7 separate regions of the Homo sapiens genome follow, and regions 1, 2, 4, 5, 6 and 7 are each linked to region 3. The links are contacts of gene promoters, found by promoter capture Hi-C in blood cells and fetal thymus (Javierre and others, 2016). All regions are on one chromosome and are shown on one strand. The core of a region is centred on a gene start or on the middle of the fragment in contact, and the rest is flanking DNA. Distances in the headings are between cores, read along the strand shown. Region 1 has its middle 44 kb from the start of SAR1B. Region 2 overlaps JADE2 (jade family PHD finger 2). Region 3 holds the start of PPP2CA (protein phosphatase 2 catalytic subunit alpha). Region 4 has its middle 7.1 kb from the start of JADE2. Region 5 overlaps JADE2 (jade family PHD finger 2). Region 6 overlaps SAR1B (secretion associated Ras related GTPase 1B). Region 7 overlaps SEC24A (SEC24 homolog A, COPII component).

Region 1 (2,700 bases), core at 110-2,609, 360 kb after region 3:
GCGCGGTGGCTCACACCTGTAATCCCAGCACTTTGGGAGGCCGAGGCAAGCGGATCACAAGGTCAAGAGTTTGAGACCAGCCTGGCCAACATGGTGAAACCCCGTCTCCACTAAAAATACAAAAATCAGCCAGGCATGGTGGCGGGCACCTGTAATCCCAGCTACTCAGGAGGCTGAGGCAGGAGAATCCCTTGAACCCAGGAAGCAGAGGTTGCAGTGAGCCGAGATGGTGCCATCACACTCCAGCCTGGGTGACAGAGCAAGACTCCATCTGAAAAAAAAAGGAGATTGGCCAGGAGTGGTGGCTCATGTCTGTAATACCAGTGCTTTAGGAAGCTGAATTGGGAAGATCGCTTGAGCCCATGAGTTCAGGCCCAGCCTGAGCAACATAGTGAGACCTCATCTCTACTGCAAAAAAAAAAAAAAAAAAAAAAAAAAAAAAAAAAGAGACAGGGTCTCACTCTTTGAGATAGGGTCTCACTCTGCTGCCTAGGCTAGAGCACAGTGGTGCAATCACAGCTCACTGTAGCCTTCAACTCCTGGGCTCAAGTGATCCTCCCACCTCAGCCCTTGGTCTCTCAAAGCTCTGGGATTACAGGCATGAACCACCATACCTGTCTGAAGAAAATTTTTTTAGAGAGATAATAAAATATGGACTTCAAGGCAGCCTTTTGAGTTCAGATGGACTCCCTGCCAAGAGTCAAAGGGAGGGAAGAAAGGATGGGGTTTCAGTCAAGCAGGTGGCTTAAGGGCAAGCTCATCGTAGCAGAGTATTGCTTGGCCCCCAGTACTCCAAGCCAGGCCTGAGCTCAGAAGCATCCGCACCAGCCCATTCTGAGGAAACATGGGTAGGGATACAGGGTCCCCATTTGCTGGCTGGAGAGATTTTCAGTGGGTAGGAGGGAGGCTGTCAGATTTAGCAAATAAAAATATAGGGCATGTAGTTACATTCAAATTTCAGAGAGTAGTTCCTCAGTACATTTTCCAAATATTGCATCCTGTATTTTCCCTGGCATTCCTAGTGGGAAGCCTCAGGTCCCTCTTTCCACTGTGTTCCAGGCAGGGGGCTGAGGCAGGAGCATGGTTTTCCATGTTTTATACACTGTGGCAAATCCTAAACTATCCCAACAACCCCAACATGATGACACCTACAGTGTGAGAACAATGGAAAATGGGCTGCAGCCAGTGACCCAGGACACAGCTGGGCCTGTCTTAACTCAGCCACAGCCTCCCTTATACCTGACATTCCAATCCAATGCTGAACAGAAGCTCCGTAGTGTCCTTGAAGGACCTCTGCTCCCCAGAGCTCACAAGCCCATTTATTTGCTGTCTCAGCTCAACATCTAAAGAGTTCAGATTGGTGGGAGCACTGTTCACAATAGCCAAGAGGTAGGAGCAACCTAAATATCCATTGACAGATGAATGGATAAAGAAAATGTATACACATACAATGGAATATTATTCAGCCTTAAAAAAGAAGGAAATCCTGTCCTGTGCTACAGCATGGATCAACCTGCAGGAAATTATGCTAAGCAAAATAAGCCAGTCAAAAAAAGTCAAATGCTGTATGATTCCACTTATAGGAGGTACTTAGAGTAGTCAAAATCATAGAGCAGAAAGTAGAAAGGTAGTTGCCAGGGGCTGGGGGGAGGAGGAAGAGAATTGATTAGGAGGCACAGAGTCAGGACGGGAGGGTGGTTCCAGGGCTCTGCTGCCCATCAATGGCATGTGGTTGACAATATTGTACTTTACACTTGGAAATTGTTGGGAGGGTGAATTTATTTTTTTATTTTTGAGACAGGGTCTCACTCTGTCACCCAGGCTGGAGTACAGTGGCACGATCTTGGTTTGCTGCAACCTCTGCATGCCCCCAGGCTCAAGTGCTCCTCCCACCTCAGCCTCCCGAATAGCTAGGACCACAGGCACACACTATCATGACCAGCTGTTTTTGTTGTGTTTTGTTTTGTTTTGTTTTCTCTAGTAGAGCCAGGGTCTCGCCAAGTTGCTCAAGCTGGTCTCAAACCTCTGAGCTCGAGGAATCTCAAAGTGCTGGATTACACGTACCTAGCCCGGGAGAGTGAATTTTGTGTTTTTGGGGTTTTTGTTTGTTTGTTTTGCTGCAGTTTAAGAAAAAAATGATACTGTAGAAAAAAAAAAAAACCTGCTACATGTAATACCACCCAACTGCTTTGTTGCAACAAACATAATGTAAAGCAAAAGAAACCATTTTATTTTACTTCTGGGGAATTTTTTTTTTTAAGATAGTTTCACTCTGTCACCCAGGCTAGAGTGCAGTGGCACGATCTTGGCTCACTGTAACCTCCACCTCCTGGGTTCAAGCAATTCTTGTGCCTCAGCCCCTCAAGTAGCTGGCATTATGGCACTCACAACGAGCTAATTTTTGTATTTTTAGTAGAGACAGGGTTTCGCCACATTGGCCAGGCTGGTCTCAAACTCTGGCCTCAAGTGATCCGCCTGCCTCAGCCTCCCAAAGTGCTGGGATTACAGGCGTGAGCCACCGTGCCCGGCCATCAGAAGAAACCATTTTAAAACAGTTTTTTTTTAAAAAGAGTTCATGTTGGGCCTCTGCTTTTCCTAGAGCACCATCCGTGACTCCCCTAAGTCCCCCAACTCAAACTCAAACTCAAAGCTCTTTTGAAATTATAATCACCTCCCTTCCCTAAAAGGCTTTTTGCACAC
Region 2 (2,700 bases), core at 188-2,687, 340 kb after region 3:
CATCCAGTTCCTGCACTCCCAGCTCTATACCTTCTTTGTTTCAGTTTCTACTTCTCTGAGTTTCAGTTTCTTTGTCTGTAAAATGGGAATAAGGATCAGACTGACCTTGGGGTCACAGTGCATGTGGGGGACAAAGCTTAGCACAGTGCCCTCCATTGTTGGCCGTGATTGTTGTTACTGTCCTGGCCCCTCAGCATTTGGCTCTTAGAAGAAGGGAGGCCAGCCCGTGCGCTCTGAGGGTGGGCTCCACAGAGGACCAAAAGGGCAGGCCCAGTGCTAGGGCCTGGGAACCCAGCATCCTCCCAGATTGATTCGTTCCTCCTCAGCCAGGCAGGGGTTTTGCTGAGAGAAACAGGAGCCGGGGCTGCTGCCGGCATGAAATCCCATTTTATGGTCAACCAGATGTGCTTTCCTAAAATTTCAGCCTTGGGCCTCGGCCCCAGCGGACGCTCGGAAGGCATGGCCACTGCAGCCTCCCAGAGTTATTTACGGCTGACAAAAATCGCAGCACTGTTGATCAGCCCGACAAGTGCCGGCTGGTGTCCCCTAGCAACCGTGCTGACAAGCAGGCTGTGCAGGGACTTGCTGCTTGTGGCTCTGGCTCTGGTCACCAGGAGTTTATTTGGGAGCCTGACCTGGCCTGAGGAGGAGGCCAAGAGGGTGGAGGCGGCTCTGAGACACACACCTGCCCAGAGGATGATATGGGACAACTTCCCAAGGAGGGAAAGGCTCAGAAGGAAGTGGGTCCTGGCCTCAGTGCCTGGATGGTGGTCCCTTTGGCCTCCCACCAAAGCCAACCTTGTCCTGGGCAGCTCCAGCCTGCAGACCTCTGGCTCTTCTGCCCCTGTGCCTTCCATCTCTAGGGCTCCCCCAACCCATTAGTGCCCTTGCCTCACCCAAGCCCAGTCACCACCTCCAGCTGCTCCCAGGTCAGTAGCCCAGAAATTGCCACATCCTGCTCCGTGCCTGCAGTCTACTGCTCTCCCTGCTCACTTGTCTCCCAGGCCCTCCACCCTTCTTTGTCCTGCTTTCTTCACTCACTCCCTGTATGGCACTGGCCTGCTATGCCCCAGCCCTTGTCCCTCACTGAGGCCAGAACCCTGGCAGAGCCTCACCCAGTAAGAGCCACTCCCTCCACCAGGAGAAATCCCATAGCGCTGAGCAGGGCAGTCCCTGCCGCACACCCCACCTCATACCTGCTGCCCACATGCTGAGCCCTGCCTCCCTCAGGACAGCGTCCCCTCTGTCCTCATACCAGGGCCTCTAACTTCTGCCAGCCGAGCCTCTCGGTCCATTCTCTTCCCTTCCCTCCTGTCTTCCTTCCCCCACAGGGGCTCTTTTCCAGCCCACACCTGCAGCTGACGAGTCTGTCTTTTCTTCATCCCCTCTGCGGGTCCTTTTCCACCAATATTTGAATCTGTTCAACCCTCTCTCATCTTCAAAAGCGAATCCTCCCTCCCTATTTCCCTCTAGTCGTGGGTTCCTCCGCTCCCACCCCCATCTCTCCTTTCCTGTCATCCCTCATGGTATTTGCATCCTTGCTGCCCACTCTGGCCGGGTTTCCGCCACATCCCAGAGCCTGCCACCTGGGCTGCCTGCAGCCTCCCTGCCCACCTCTCCATCCCCCGATCCTCTCAGCAGCGGCTGCCACAATCAGACCTGCCCTTAGTCTTGGAGTCCTTTTTCTGTGATGCTCTGACCAGGTCCCCCCTGAGGTCCTGGTTTACCCCCCTCCCTCTCTGGCTGCTCCTTGGCCTCAATGGTCATCCATTGCTCTCCCCTGACTGCTCACTCCCAGGGCTGGAGACCTCAGGCTCCACTGTCTTTCACGGCTGCCCACAGTTTTGCCCCACGTGGGGGTGCTGGCTGCCCCTCCCTTTTGAGCTCCACACCAAGTCCCTTTTAAAGGCCACCGGCATCTCATGCCCAGCATCCCTGTTAGTTTCCTAGGCCTGCCCGTGTGCCACCAGCTGGATGGTGAGATTTATCCTCATGGTTTTGGAGGCTGGAAGCCCAAGGTTGAGGTGTCAGCAGGATTAGTTCCTGCCGGAGGCTCTGCGGGGGAGTCTCTCCGTGCCTCCCAGCTTCTGGTGGTTGCCAGGAATCTTTGCTGTTCCTTGGCCTGCGGACATCTGTCTGGCCTCTGCCTCTGCCAGGTCACATGGCCTTCTCCCTGTAGGCACCTGTGTCAGGACTCCACTCATAGTAGATCAAGGGCCCACCCTAATGTAGTATGACCTCATCTTAACTATTTATATCTACAGAGACTCTATTTCCAAATAAGGTCACATTGCAAGGGTCCCAGTAAAAATGAATTTGGGGGAACACTATTCAATCCCGTACAGAAGCCACTGGAGGTTTTAAGGGGAGAAGGGAAGTGTCTCACTACTCTGTGAAAATCCAGCCCTGGGCCGGGCGCGGTGGCTCACGCCTGTAATCCCAGAACTTTGGGAGGCCAAGGTGGGCGGATCAGGAGGTCAGGAGTTCAAGACTAGCCTGGCCAACATGGTGAAACCCCATCTCTACTAAAAATACAAAAATTAGCCAGGTGTGGTGGCAGGCACCTGTAATCCCAGCTACGTGGGAGGCTGAGGCAGGAGAATGGCTTCAACCCGGGAGGCCGAGGTTGCAGTGAGCCAAGACTGTGCCACTGCGCTCCAGCCTAGGCGACAGACCGAGACCCCGTCTCGAAAGAAAAAA
Region 3 (2,700 bases), core at 41-2,540:
CTACAACATTCTATTTTCAGTGTATGTGAGACATTATTTAAACACTAAGCACAATGTCTGGAATACAATCTCAGTCGACAGTTATTATCACTACTACTACTTGCAGCCACAAAATACTATCAAGTAATTTTTGCAACAAAGATACAAAATTTACCGCTCTTCCATTTTATGTTGTTCATTTTAAAAATAAACGGCAAAATGCCAAGTGTGTTAAGCTTAGAGAAGGCTTTGAGTCAGCATATAAATCATATTCAACCGACACTTGATTTCCAATCCAAAAGCTCCTTATGTAGTATGACTCACCAAATTCCCGATTTCTTCCAACTATGAAAAATAAGTTACACTCCTCCCTTATAGCTACCACCATGACCTTCGTAAAAATTAGGTTAAGAGAATAATTTAAAAATTCTTAAAGACACCCCTTACCTTGATTTCTGGAGAAGATCGCTTGGTGAGTTTAATACAAACCACCAAGGGGTACTAAAGCTGTGTGACCTTTAGGTATGTTCTGGGATACGGCCTAACAAGACTGCCTTTGGGGGATCCTCTGGGCAGCTCTGGACCTAACTAGGCCTGGGTACCAGCGGCAAGACTCTTACTCAGCCCACCGGAGAGGCCCAGGCTCCATTCCCAAGCCGCAGAATCCAAGCCAGCTCACCCTCAAAACCGTCCCTGACGATGACCCACAGGGTCTCCGCTCCCCCTGCCACCTCGTCTGGCGCCAAGGCCGGCTGACTCAAAAGCCCAGGAGTCGAGTGAACGGCGCCATTTTAGGCGGCGGCGGCAACCAATCCCTGCGCGGGAGGCAGGGGGCGCCGGGTCGTTAGGAAGCCGCCGCCGGCCAGGATGGGCGCCGGTCTCGGAGACTCGGGGGGCCCGGACCGGCGGCCTCCGCCATGTTGCACCCTCCTCACGGCCGCCTTTTCCTCGGCGGGCTCGGCCCCGCGGCGGCTGTCCGCAGCCGTACTACAGCTCACCTTCTCGCAGAGGCTCTTGACCTGGGACTCGGACAGCTGCTTGCACTCGTTCAGCTGCTCGATCCACTGGTCCAGCTCCTTGGTGAACACCTTCTCGTCCATGATGCCACCCGCCCCAGCCGGCTGCCGCTCCGCGCTGCTCCCGCGCCGCCGCCCGCACACGGGCCTACACGCACACGCCGCCGCCGGTTCCTCGTGTACTTCTGGCGGCTGTTGAGGCTGGCGCTGGCCCGCTGGCTCTCACCGCAGTACTCGGCCGTCGGCCGCTGCGCCTCCTCCTCCGCTCGCTGAGGCTCCAGAGCTCGGCTCTCTGTAATGGCGGCCGCCGGGCGTGGTGACGTCACGCCCGGCGTCAGGAGGCGGCGGGGAGCGGAGGGGAAAAGGGCCGGGGAGCAAGCTGCGCAACTGCAGAGCCCTCCCCGGGCGGCCGCACGACCGGAGTTGGGGCGCAAACTGGGGGTCAAAGCGCAGGCGCGACGTAGCCGGCTGGTAACTGAAGCGCCTTGACTTTTTGGGCGTGGCTCCCGGAGGGCGGGGTGGTGGGGGAAGGGAAGGATGGAGCTGGAGCATGCGCAGTGCGCACAGCGGCGAACCGGACTAATCCCTGAGCACTATTCCAGGAGAGGCGAGGGCTTGGGCCGCGCGCAGGCGCAGACCGGATGGAAGCCGGGGCCACTGGCAGCCTGTAACTGGTTCCCCTGGGAAGGCCGCTCTGGTGATGAACTCAGCTCCTCACCTGGGGCCTGGCAGTCCGATCACGGAAACGAGAATTGCGACCCCGTGGCTCATCTGGGGTGCTGCGGCTCTGTAATCGTGTGGGTTTCCGTCATCTTTGGGGGCAGGAACGGGCAGCGAGTGGCCGCTTGGATTAACCACCCCCACCTCTGGGCGCGGCTGGCACCTTGTAATTAGGTCACTCGTAGGTGGAGGAGCGTGTACCTACCGGGGGAGTGCTGCGCAGTGCACCTGACTTCCGCGGCACACACCCGTCCCCGGACCTAGGTGTCTCGTCGGGCGCGATGGCGGGGGCGAGGCTTGGGCTTTTCTTTGGGCCTCGGACCGCGGCTCGCTTCCACGCGCCCCGCTCCTCGCCGGTGGTTGCTTTCCTCCAAGTTTAATTCTCTCTGGGAATGAGAGACCCTCAACCCCTGCGCGCCCTGGCCTACTTTCAAGAGGGGAAGCCCAGAGAAGATGGATGCACCTGTCCTGACCGCGTCTCGGTGGCGTGAGAAGCAGCTGTGATACGTGCTTAAAAGAGAGAGCTCGTATACCCTAGGATTGGACCTCTGTCTGGTTATGAATCGCTTTGGAGTTTGCGAAACGTTTTCACATTCCATTGTCCCTGCTTTTACATAAATATCTGGTTCCATAGAGCGCCAGCTATATGCCAGATCCGGAGGGGTCATCCAGACGGACCAGGGACCATGCCCTGGAGCTTGTATTCTCCCAACAGTACTGGCTGAAGATGGTTTGGGATAGGCAGAAGAGAGATCATAATGCCCCCAGGATTTGAAAGATATAGAAGCTTTCCAAAGAACATTTAACCATAAAGGGCAAGGCAAGAGCTGAACCTGATCGCCTGTCTTCCAGGAACCCCACCCTCAGTATCAGGCAACCCTTCCACACCCAAGTGCTCAGCGATGCTTGGGAGGAGACTGCTCACTCTGCGGCTCTGAGGGCATCATCCCCACCAACAGGCTGAAGAAGGCACTGGAGGCCCCAT
Region 4 (2,700 bases), core at 59-2,558, 290 kb after region 3:
AGCAGAGTGAGACCCTGTCTCAAAAAATAAATAAATAAATAAAAATAAAAAAGGCCGGGCACAGTGGCTCACGCCTGTAATCCTAGCACTTTGGGAGGCCGAGGCAGGTGGACTGCCTGAGCTCAGGAGTTCGAGACTAGCCTGGGCAACACGGTGAAACCCCGTCTCTACTCAAATACAAAAAATTAGCTGGGCATGGTGGCATGCGTATGTAATCCCAGCTACTCGGGAGGCTGAGACAGGAGAATCGCTTGAAATAAAATAAAATAAATAAAAAATAAATTTAAAAGAATGCAGACTTTTAGCTCTCCCAGACTTAATGAATCAGACTTTGCATCTGAACAAGATCCCAGGTAATTTGTGTGCATAGTGTAGTCGGACAAGCATTGCCCTAAGCAGTGAGTATGTGAATACAAGTCTAGAACCCAAATGAGGACTTCTCACCTGGCACAGAAGTGGGCTGCTGGGGAGTGTGGCTAACTACATCTGCGGCTTCTGCCTACCTTGATGACTCAAATTGTTGAGTCAGGTATTTTCTGTTTCTTTCCAACCCTTGTATACCGCCTTGAACATAGCAAGTGCCAGGTGTGGTGGCACGTGCCTGTAGTCTCTGGAGGCTGAGGCGGGAGGACTGCTTGAGCCCAGGAGTTCTGTGTGGTAGTTCATTATGTGGATTGGGTGTCTGCACTAAGTTTGGCATCAATATGGTGACCTCCTGGGAGCAGGGGACCACGAAGTTGCCTAAGGAGGGGTGAACTGACCCAGGTCGGAACATAGCAGGCAATAAATATCCTGGGAATGAATGTTGAACCAATCTTATACTATTCTCTCAGTTTAGGGTTTTTAGGGTATGCTGTACTTCTGCATCTGGACATGTACTGAAAGTTATTTGAAAGGATTTTTAGTCCGGGCGCAGTGGCACACGCCTGTAATCCCAGCACTTTGGGAGGCCGAGGCGGGCGGATCACTTGAGGTCAGGCGTTCACGACCAGCCTGGCCAACATGGTGAAACCCCGTCTCTACTAAAAATACAAAAAATTAGCCTGGCGTGGTTGCGGGTGCCTGTAATCCCAGCTACTCGGGCGGCTGAGGCAGGAGAATCACTTGAACCCAAGAGGCGTAGGTTGCAGCGAGCCAAGATCGTGCCACTGCACTCCAGCCTGGGCAACAAGGGCGAAGCTCCATCTCAAAAAGAAAAAAAAAATTAGCTGGGTGTGGTGGTGCACAGCTGTAATCCCAGCTAGTCGGGAGACTGAGGCAAGGGAATCACTTGAACCCAGGAGGGGGAGGTTGCAGTGAGCCGAGATGGCGCCACTGCACTCCAGCCTAGGCAACAGAGTGAAACTGTGTCTTAAAAAAAAAAAAAAATATATATATATATATATATATATGTATATATATATATATATATGTATATATATAAAAATATATATATATACACACACACATATATATGTGTGTGTATATATATATATATATATATATATTTTTTTTTTAGCCAGGTGGAGTGGCTCACTCCTGTAATTCCAACATTCTGGGAGGCCAAGGCGGGAGGGTTGCTTGAGCCCAAGAGATCGAGACCAGCCTGGACAACATAGCAAGACCCTGTCTCTACAAAAACTAAAAAAAGAATTTTTGTTCCGAACCAGGACCCCTGGAAAAATAGCTATTGTCTAATGAGCAATGACTGAGCGCCAGGCCAGTGCATGGAACCATGTGGACATGTTCTCAGTGTTTCACAAAGTGTGGTTCAATGCCATGTACATTATGAATGACCAAGTACTTGTTAAAAGCTGCAGGTTTTGGCTGGGCGCAGTGGCTTATGCCTGTAATCCCAGCACTTTGGGAGGCCAAGGTGGGTGGATCACCTTAGGTCAAGAGTTCAAGACCAGCCTGGCCAACATGGTGAAACCCCATCTCTGCTAAAAATACAAAAATTAGCCAGCCATGGTGGCAGCCTCCTGTAATCTCAAAAAAATAAAACACTGCAGATATTTTTTTTAATTGAAAAAAAAAAAAAAGTTGCGGGCCCTGCCCCAGACCTGCCTACTGAGAACCTCTGGGGATAAGGCTCAGATATCTGCAATTTTTGGCCGGGCACGGTGGTTCACGCCTGTAATCCCAGCACTTTGGGAAGCCAAGACGGGCGGATAATTTGAGGTCAGGAGTTCGAGACCTGGCCAACATGGTGAAACCCCATCTCTACTAAAAATACAAAAAGTACTTGGGTATGATGGTGGCACCTATAATCCCAGCTATTTAGGAGGCTGAGGCGGGAGAATCACTTGAACCCTGGAGGCAGAGGTTGCAGTGAGCCAAGATGGTGCCACTGCACTCCAGCGTGGGCGACAAGAGTGAGACTCCATCTCAAAAAAAAGGCTGGGGCCAGGTGCAGTGGCTTACGCCTGTAATCCCAGCACTTTGGGAGGCCGAGACGGGTGGATCACCTGAGGTCGGGAGTTCGAGACCAGCCTGGCCAACATGGAGAAACCCTGTCTCTACTAAAAATACAAAAATTAGCTGGGCATGGTGATGTGTACCTGTAATACCAGCAACTTGGGAGGCTGAGGCAGGAGAATCGCTTGAACCTGGGAGGCGGAGGTTGCAGTGAGCCCAGATCGTGCCACTGCGTTCCAGCCTGGGCGACAGAGCAAGAGTCTGTCTCAAAAAAAAAAAAAAAAAAAAAAAAAAAATCTGCAT
Region 5 (2,772 bases), core at 197-2,696, 310 kb after region 3:
ATCCACTAGGATGGCCAAGGAGGTCTCAGCCCCATCCCTACCTCCAAGTCTCATTTGTTGTCCTTTGGGCTCTGTTTGCTCAGTTTGGCTCTGGCGTCCCACCTGGCCAGCCCTTCTTCCCTACAGCAGGAGATCACAGCATCTGGCCTTTTGTGGCTACAACATGCTGCCTGTGGCCTGGCTCAGTGGAACCAAAAACCACATCCTCCATTTCTAACTTTATTGCAGGCAGAGGAGCCCTTTGAGAGAGCCAGGTACCTGCAAGGCTCCCCACCAGCCCCCTCCACTGTGCCCACCCATGGCTGCTACTCCTATTCAGCCAAAACCATAGTGTTGCCCTATTTCTTGCTGCTCCTTTGATTCATAAGGGCGGAGGCCACAGCACTGTCATCCAGCAAGGGCCTTAGACCCTAATAATTATAGCTAATGTTTATTGAGGAATCACTCTGTGCCAGGGACTGTGCTGAGACTTTACAGGCATGATATCACTTATTCCTCACCACAGCCCTTTGAAGATAGTTATTCTTTTGCCCCCATTTTACAGAAGAACAAACTAAGGCTCAGCAAGATTGAGTCATTTGCCTGGGGTGACAAGCTAGTAAGTGGCTGGGTCAGGGCTCTGCTGATGACCTGGATCTGCTTCAGAGCATCTCTCTTCCCATTGCCCTGCTCTGCCTCTGAATACCCACTGGCATCATCCCAGAGTATTTGGACAGTACCTAACCTGGGGCAGGGTGGAGTGTGGGCATGAAAGGCTTATTCCAGCTGTCTTTGAGCAGAGTCCCACAGAGGGCCAAGGACTTGTCTGGGGTCACACATTAAACTAATACTGAGCCCCAGTAACAGCCTTTGATTTCTCCAGCCTTCTGGTTGGCGAGTAGAGGAGGCTTCATGTCCCCATTCATCAGTGGGGAGACTGAGGCCCAGAGCAGGGATACTAGGTCTCACAGAGGTTTCTCCCTCATGAACATTCTAGCCGGGGCTTTGCTTAGAAGCTTCCTATTCTTGGGCATGAGTGGGTGGTGCTCCTGGCCCTCCAGGACCCCTAATGGACTGTTCTCTCTCTGCAGGTCATGCGACATCTACATCCGCATCAAGATGCTCCAAACTGCCCAGCAGCACCAAGTCGGGCTGGCCCCGACAGAACGAAAAGAAGCCCTCCGAGGTGGGTAGTGATGAGCTTCCCAGAGATCTGTGGGGAGTGAGAGTGAGCTGCCCTGCGGAGACTGGGGCAGAGCATTCCTGGCAGAGGGCACGGGCAGTGCAGAGGGAGGCCAGCGTGGCCGAGTGGAATGAAGGGGAGTAGGGGCCAGTTTCCCTCAGCCTTCCAGGTTGTTGTGAAGATGTTCCTATTGAACTGAGCAAGGGGAGAAGCCTTTCAAGGATCTCAGACAGGGTAATGACACAGCCTGATGTTTTAGTGAAAGTTCCCCCTGGCCGCTGTGAGAGAAGGGAGAGTTGCAGTCATCCAGCAGGGAAATAGTGGTGGCTTAGAGCTGGGTGGTAGCAGTGGAATGAGAAGCAGCAGGGTTTGTGACATTTTGGAGGCCGAGCCAAGAGTGATAAGGATTTGCTGGTGCAGGGATAAGGGGTGGAGTCCTCAGAGCCATCCAATTAGTCATAGGTTCCTTATACCCATTTCACAGGCATCTGCATTTGAAGCCTTCCTTACTTTGACCTGGGATGTTTCTTACAGCAGGTAGAGGTTTATGGCCTCTGGAACTGAGAAGCGCACTGGGGGTGGGTAGACTCCTGGACACCTGGACCCTCCTTCTGGGGTCCCTGAAAACTCCCACCCTAGGGCCTTATTGCTCCTTCTTGTAGGTCTTCAGTGCTAATGCCACAAGGTATTCATTGCACTGACCACAGAAGAAGCCTTTGGCACAGATGGGGCTGCAGAAGCTTGGAGAGATGGAGAGATGGAGGGTCTTAATCCTGGCTCTTTTTTTTTTTTTGGAGACTGAGGTTCTCTCTGTTCCCCAGGCTGGAGTGCAGTGGCATGATCTCGGCTCACTTCAACCTCTGCCTCCTGGGTTCAAATGCCTCTCCTGCCTCAGCTTCCCGAGTAGCTGGGATTACAGGTGCACACAGCACACCCAGCTAATTTTTGTATTTTTATTTTTATTTTATTTATTTATTTATTTATTTATTTATTTATTTTGAGATGGAGTCTTGCTTTGTTGCCCAGGCTGGAGTGCAGTGGCGTGATCTCGGCTCACTGCAAGCTCCGCCTCTTGGGTTCACGCCATTCTCCTGCCTCAGCCTCCCGAGTGGCTGGGACTACAGGCGCCCGCCACCACACCCGGCTAATTTTTTGTATTTTTTTAGTAGAGACGGGGTTTCACCGTGTTAGCCAGGATGGTCTCGACCTCCTGACCTTGTGATCCGCCCGCCTTGGCCTCCCAAAGTGCTGGGATTACAGGCATGAGCCACCGCGCCCGGCCTAATTTTTGTATTTTTAGTAGAGATGGGGTTTCACCATGTTGGCCAGGCTGGTCTTGAACTCCTGACCTCAGGTGATCCACCTGCCTCGGCCTCCCAAAGTGTTGGGATTACAGGCGTGAGCCACCGCGCCCGGCCAATCCTGGCTCTTAAGTAGGACACTGTACTACAGCCAAGAAGTAGCCAGGCACTGGGGCTGGACACTCCTTTTTAATCATTAAAACTAGCCCAGAATTTCTCAGTCCTGTTGAAAATAAGGAAAGTGAGGATCGCAAGGTCATTTAGCCAAGACCTTAAATCCTTGGGGCTCACAATGCCAAGGGCAGAAAG
Region 6 (2,700 bases), core at 24-2,523, 380 kb after region 3:
ACTCAAACTTACTTGAATCAGTTTTCAATTCTCATTCAAATTAAGTTGATTTAATATTAATAATCTAAAAAACATCTGTTTTATAACCAGCAAAAGTCTATTGAATTCAAGTTATGCATGTTGAGCAATCAAATCTCTGAGTAAGCCTGAACGTTGAGACCTGGAACCAATGTGAGTTTGTGTTAATCAATGTACTGTGCCATCCAGCGGAAGCCTTCTCCGTAACCTTGTCTTTTGAGCACACTACACATGAAAACTTCTAAGGGTCGGGCATTCAGTTCTTTCAGAGATATACTCCCCTAGAATAGAAGAGAGACATTTCGTTGGAATTTTATAAAATTAATAAAGCCCCACATCCCAGCAGAATTATAGGTTCTATTTTAGAACAAAGAATGGCTGTGATAAATCCATGACTGTGATAAAGTCGTGGCTGCTTGGCATCCAAGCCCCATGAACACACAAGAAGCCTCCTTCTCTCACTCTACCTTAGGGCAGGATGGCCACTCAGTGGGAAAGAGGTTAGCTTGCAAGATACCCAAGAATAAAAATAATCTGACTTAGAAAAAAATCCAAACTGGCTTCACTAATATTAAAGACAAACATTCCCTGAGAAGGTTTATGACCAAACAAAGCATTTCCTAAAATTAATATCAAGCTAATTTATAAAAAAGAAGACAGAAAACAGACCAAAGTCTACTTTGTCTGACTTAAGAGCCTCCTGCGGACCGGGCGTGGTGGCTCATGCCTGTAATCTCAGCACTCTGGGAGGCCAAGGCGGGCGGATCACCTGAGGTCAGGAGTTCGAGACCAGACTGACCAACATGGAGAAACCCCGTCTCTACCAAAAATACAAAATTAGCTGGGCGTGCTGGCACACGCCTGTAATCCCAGCTACCAGGGAGGCTGAGGCAGGAGAATCGCTTGAACCTGGGAGGCAGAGGTTGCAATGAGCCGAGATTGCACCATTGTACTCCAGCCTGGGCAACAAGAGCAAAACTCCATCTCAAAAAAAAAAAAAAAGAGCCTCCTGCTATATGCTGCAGTATTTCTCCACCCTGAAATAGTATATGTAAACTAAAAAAATTTTGTAAATCTCTGGGGTTCTTCCACTGTTTATCTGGATTTTTTCAATGCTGATGTTTCCCCCAAAATAAATCCTAGGAAAAGTGAATACCAAAACAATCCGTCTTAAAGCTTATTATAAAGTATATGTTCAGAAAACCGTAAAATATTCCAAGTTTATGTCTTATTTATCTCTGGTAAACTCAGGGCCTAAACACACTACTGGTATACTTAAACACTCAAATATATCGTTTGGTGGCTAATTCTGAAAATGTATGATAAATAACTTTGAAAGCTTTAATTTAGTTTCCTATAAGCACAAGCCTTAGGCATAACTCATCCTTGACATTTTTGTTGTCACCAAGAAAATGTTTCATTCCATGGTAGAAAGAAATGAGGACATTAAAAAGACCCACAGGTATAAATGACAGTTTTCTTTAAGAAAATGATAATGGGCTTGTATAGTTGGACAATAGTAATTTAAGAAGACATTTGTACTGTAGAATTAAACACACCCATCATAATTTTTTTTTTTTTTTTACCTTTCCTGTTGTCTGACCATATAAACCAAACATCTCTCGCAACCTCTCTTCACTGATGGCTTCAGGTCTGTCGATCTTATTCCCAAGAATCAGTATAGGCACATTAGCAATGGTTTCATCTGTCATTAGTGACTGAAAAAAACAAAACAATACAAAACAAGAGTTGATATGAAACCATCCAAAGAGCTTATTTTGATATGATAAAACAATAAAGGACTCATTTTCTACCATATCATGTCATACCAACGTTCTTTGTCAAACTTTCCCCACATTTTAAAGTGACCTCAATGAAACCATAAGCTAAATTCTTCTGTCTTCCTAAGGCTCTTCCTGTAAATGTTTACTCTGCTCATCCTTTAAAGGAGTGACATAGAACGTATAGAGCCAGCACCTTAGAAGTGAACAGATGTGGTTTCACTTCTGGCTCTACTGCTTTTGAGATGTGACTTTGGGCAAGTTAGCCTGACTGAAGCTCTAGAGAGAATTAGGAACAGTAGCATCCACCCTATGAAATTGAGAATTAAATCAAGTAATACGCACAGTCTCTGGAACAAAGTAGGAACTCAGGCATTCTCTGTCCTTGTTTTGTAACCATAGAACCTACCTGGACTTTTCCACACGTACAAGTATTTGTTTGCCTGCTCTGGGCAGAGCCATGGTATGATCAACCTTCAATCAAATCATGGACCTGCTTACTCTGTGGCCCCAGATCTGGTGCTGACCTTGCCTGCTGCTGTTGGGCCCCTTTACAAAATATCTGACCTGGGATACTGGAGGGGAGGTAGCTACATATGCCTCTGCTCACTCCTGGGAGTAGTGTCAAAGATGGCATGTCCTATCATTTCCAGGCTGTGGCTTAAGATATAGCATCTTAGCATGACCAGGGACTCAAGATCAACCCACTCCAGGAATATAACAGACATGAAATATACTAAAAGGGTACATTCTGTACAGGGTGAGCTTCTTAAGTCTTCATAAAAGATGTCTGTGTTAGTACTTCCTCAATAGCTACAATTACTCAGTTACTCCCTCTGCATTCTAAGTAATCACTACTTAAAGCAATCACTGAGCTCAACAAATTGCCAAGAGTTTCATC
Region 7 (2,700 bases), core at 82-2,581, 450 kb after region 3:
TTTCTGATAAATTAAATTTGGTACCTTTAAATTGTATTTAGAATCTTCAGCAAAACTGAACTTTTAAATAATAGACTTTGCAATTTGGGCCATCACCTAAGTTTAATTTAATTCCAGTGTCAACTAGACTTACAAAACAAAAAATAAGTCATTTGATAGTTTAGACTGTTTTACACACAAGCCAAAAAGAGACTATATTTTAGTTATAGGATAACCATCCACTCTATTTCTGCATAGGACTTAGATTTAAATATTTAAATGGGATAAAATTTTGAGACTCTATTGAAATATTTCATCTGTAATCTGATCCAGTATTAAAATGTATACCTTTTAAATCTTTGTTGTTGTTTTCTTCAAAAATAATCATAGCAGCAACTGATACATACTTTTTACTTTGATATAGGTTATTTCGATGCACGCTGACTAGCATTCCTCAGACGCAGGCCTTATTGAATAAAGCCAAACTTCCTTTGGGGCTGCTGCTTCATCCTTTCAAAGACTTAGTGGTATGTTTCTTTTCTTTTCTTTTTTTTTTTTTGAGACGGAGTCTCCCTCTGTCGCCCAGGCTGGAGTGCAGTGACGCAGTCTCAGCTTATTGCAACCTCTGCCCTCCATGTTCAAGTGATTTTCCTGCCTCAGCCTCCCTAGTAGCTGGGATTACAGGTGCCTGCCACCGTGCCTGGCTAATTTTTGTATTTTTAGTAGAGAGGGGGTTTCACCATCTTGGCCAGGCTGGTCTTGAACTCCTGACCTCGTGATCCACCTGCCTTGGCCTCCCAAAGTGCTGGAATTACAGGCGTGAGCCTCTGCGCCCGGCTCTTTTTTTTTTTTTTTTTTTTTTTCTGAGACTGGGTCTCACTGTCGCCCAGGCTGGAGTGTAGTGGCGAGATCTCGGCTCACCGCAATCTCCGCCTCCCAGGTTCGGGCAATTCTCTTGCCTCAGCTTCCTAAGTAGCTGGCATTATAGGCATCTGCCACCACACCCAGCTAATTTTTTTATTTTTAGTAGAGATGGTGTTTCACCATGTTGGCCAGACTGGTCTCGAACTGACCTCAAGTGATCTGCCCACCTCCCAAAGTGCTGGGATTTATAGGCCTGAGCCACTACACCCGGCCTCTTTAGTGAAGGTAAATGTCTTTTGTGCAAAATTATCTTGGTGATGAAAATTTTCTGCAATGATGCAAGAATTACATATAGAATTTGTTTGATCTGTCTTTAGGAAGTCGATGATTGACAGATTACTTACAATTCAACCAAAAATTTTATTACTAAACACTTTCAAATACTAGGTAAAGTAAGTATATTGCTGGAAAATTCAAAAAGTACTGAATAGAATAGAGGTACTGAGAGAAACTAAATAAATGAATCATACTATTTTAATAGGTTGTGAATTATTTACCCATTAAAGTACTTTACCCTAGTCTCCCCGTTCTGCCATCCTTGCAGTAAAATTTGTTATTTTAAAAAGTTGTTTTAAGCCAGACATGGTGGCTCATGGCCTGTAATCCCAGCACTTTTGGAGGCCAAGGTGGGAGAATTGCTTGGGTCTATGAGTTCAAGACCAGCTTAGTCCTGGCTACTCGGGAGGCTAAGGTGGGAGGATCACTTGAGCCCAGGAGGTTGAGGCTGCAGTGAGACATGATTGTACTACTGCACTCCAGCCTGGGTGGCAGAGTGAGACCCTGTATCCAAAAAGAAAAGTTATTTCAGAAGAAAAAAGAAACTGATCTACCTTTGTCCTAAAGCTCTGTGGCCACATACTCTTGAGGATTGCTGACTTTCCCAAAACACACTACTTTTGGTGATAGGATTTTTTTGGTGGTGATATAATTTTATTGCCTGTATTGATTTTTTTTTTTTTTTTTAAGAAGCAGAGTCTTAACTGCATTGCCCAGGATTGGGTATGAGATCCTTATCTTAAAAAAAAAAAATAAAGGCCAGGTGCAGTGGCTCACACCTGTAATCCTAGCACTTTGGGAGGCTGAGGCGGGCAGATCACCTGAGGTCAGGAATTCAAGACCAGCCTGGCCAACGTGGTGAAACTCGTCTCTACCAGAAATAGAAAATTTAGCCAAGCATGGTGATGCACACCTATAATCCCAGCTACTGGGGAGGCTGAGGCAAGGGAATCGCTTGAACCCGGGAGGTGGAGGTTGCAGTGAGCCAAGATCCCACACTGTACTCCAGTCTGGGCAATAGAGTGAGACTGTCTCAAAAAAAAAAAAAAAGATAAATAAAACCTTTCTTTAAAGATGAGATGCTATGTCACTTTGTTGTCCAAGGCACTGGCTCTCAGTTAAGTTGATCAGTGTTCACCTGTCTCAGGGTTTCTGGTAAATCAAAACAAATCTCCCCAAATCTGATAGTCTTACAAAGACCCTTCCCACGTATTTACTGTTATTTATTTATTTATTTATTAGAGACCGGGTCTCTCGTTGTCACCCAGGTTAGAGTGCAGTTCCATGATCATAGCTCACTGCAGCCTTGAACTCTTGGGCTCAAGCAGTCCTCCTGCCTCAGCCTCCAGACAGAGTAAGTGGTACTGTAGGCATTGGCCACTATACCCAGCTAAGACTTTAGAACTTTTAATATGTAGGATAAACTTTAACTAGGAGTGTAATTCCAAAGTTTAACTGGTTATTTAAATTAACCTCACCTTACTTTATTATAGTTGAGAACTAAGTAAGCTTCTTAATGTA

The links. Contacts are between HindIII fragments. The CHiCAGO score rates a contact against its expected background, and 5 or more counts as called.
Region 1: a contact is called between a fragment that was not itself captured here and the fragment with the promoter of PPP2CA in region 3, in 6 of 17 cell types (fetal thymus, naive CD8 T cells, naive CD4 T cells and 3 more). The highest score is 10.1, in fetal thymus.
Region 2: a fragment that was not itself captured here is called in contact with the fragment with the promoter of PPP2CA in region 3 in 2 of 17 cell types (neutrophils and activated CD4 T cells); the score reaches 5.3 in neutrophils.
Region 4: a contact is called between a fragment that was not itself captured here and the fragment with the promoter of PPP2CA in region 3, in 1 of 17 cell types (neutrophils). The highest score is 8.7, in neutrophils.
Region 5: a contact is called between a fragment that was not itself captured here and the fragment with the promoter of PPP2CA in region 3, in 1 of 17 cell types (neutrophils). The highest score is 8.1, in neutrophils.
Region 6: a contact is called between a fragment that was not itself captured here and the fragment with the promoter of PPP2CA in region 3, in 7 of 17 cell types (total CD8 T cells, naive CD4 T cells, M1 macrophages and 4 more). The highest score is 10.3, in total CD8 T cells.
Region 7: a contact is called between a fragment that was not itself captured here and the fragment with the promoter of PPP2CA in region 3, in 2 of 17 cell types (activated CD4 T cells and endothelial precursors). The highest score is 6.0, in activated CD4 T cells.

The regions. Positions count from the first base shown.
Region 1 is chr5:134,587,586-134,590,285 of GRCh38, forward strand. No RefSeq gene overlaps it. Among named protein-coding and RNA genes, the nearest start is that of SAR1B, 44 kb to the right of the region's middle. The HindIII fragment of the contact is 3,043 bases long and covers 1-2,700 here.
Region 2 is chr5:134,569,008-134,571,707 of GRCh38, forward strand. All of the region lies in intron 9 of JADE2 (jade family PHD finger 2), which reads left to right. Among named protein-coding and RNA genes, the nearest start is that of JADE2, 45 kb to the left of the region's middle. The HindIII fragment of the contact is 2,607 bases long and covers 135-2,700 here.
Region 3 is chr5:134,224,783-134,227,482 of GRCh38, forward strand. It overlaps PPP2CA (protein phosphatase 2 catalytic subunit alpha), which reads right to left and starts at 1,291. Exons shown (of 7, transcript NM_002715.4): 1 at 978-1,291. The coding sequence starts at 1,079. It overlaps MIR3661 (microRNA 3661), which reads left to right and starts at 975; the gene lies at 975-1,070. PPP2CA-DT (PPP2CA divergent transcript) reads left to right here and starts at 1,628. Exons shown (of 1, transcript NR_186539.1): 1 at 1,628-2,700. RefSeq lists enhancers at 581-690, 1,030-1,549, 1,550-2,071, 2,071-2,230, 2,072-2,591. The HindIII fragment of the contact is 2,287 bases long and covers 214-2,500 here.
Region 4 is chr5:134,517,230-134,519,929 of GRCh38, forward strand. It overlaps the pseudogene RN7SL541P. Among named protein-coding and RNA genes, the nearest start is that of JADE2, 7.1 kb to the right of the region's middle. The HindIII fragment of the contact is 3,864 bases long and covers 1-2,700 here.
Region 5 is chr5:134,536,919-134,539,690 of GRCh38, forward strand. It overlaps JADE2 (jade family PHD finger 2), which reads left to right. Exons shown (of 12, transcript NM_001388185.1): 3 at 1,071-1,165. Among named protein-coding and RNA genes, the nearest start is that of JADE2, 13 kb to the left of the region's middle. RefSeq lists enhancers at 645-1,198, 1,892-2,772. The HindIII fragment of the contact is 907 bases long and covers 994-1,900 here.
Region 6 is chr5:134,606,768-134,609,467 of GRCh38, forward strand. SAR1B (secretion associated Ras related GTPase 1B) reads right to left here. Exons shown (of 7, transcript NM_016103.4): 6 at 1,605-1,736; 7 at 1-299. The coding sequence ends at 183. Among named protein-coding and RNA genes, the nearest start is that of SAR1B, 25 kb to the right of the region's middle. The HindIII fragment of the contact is 163 bases long and covers 1,193-1,355 here.
Region 7 is chr5:134,675,620-134,678,319 of GRCh38, forward strand. It overlaps SEC24A (SEC24 homolog A, COPII component), which reads left to right. Exons shown (of 23, transcript NM_021982.3): 7 at 404-506. Among named protein-coding and RNA genes, the nearest start is that of SEC24A, 28 kb to the left of the region's middle. The HindIII fragment of the contact is 2,710 bases long and covers 1-2,686 here.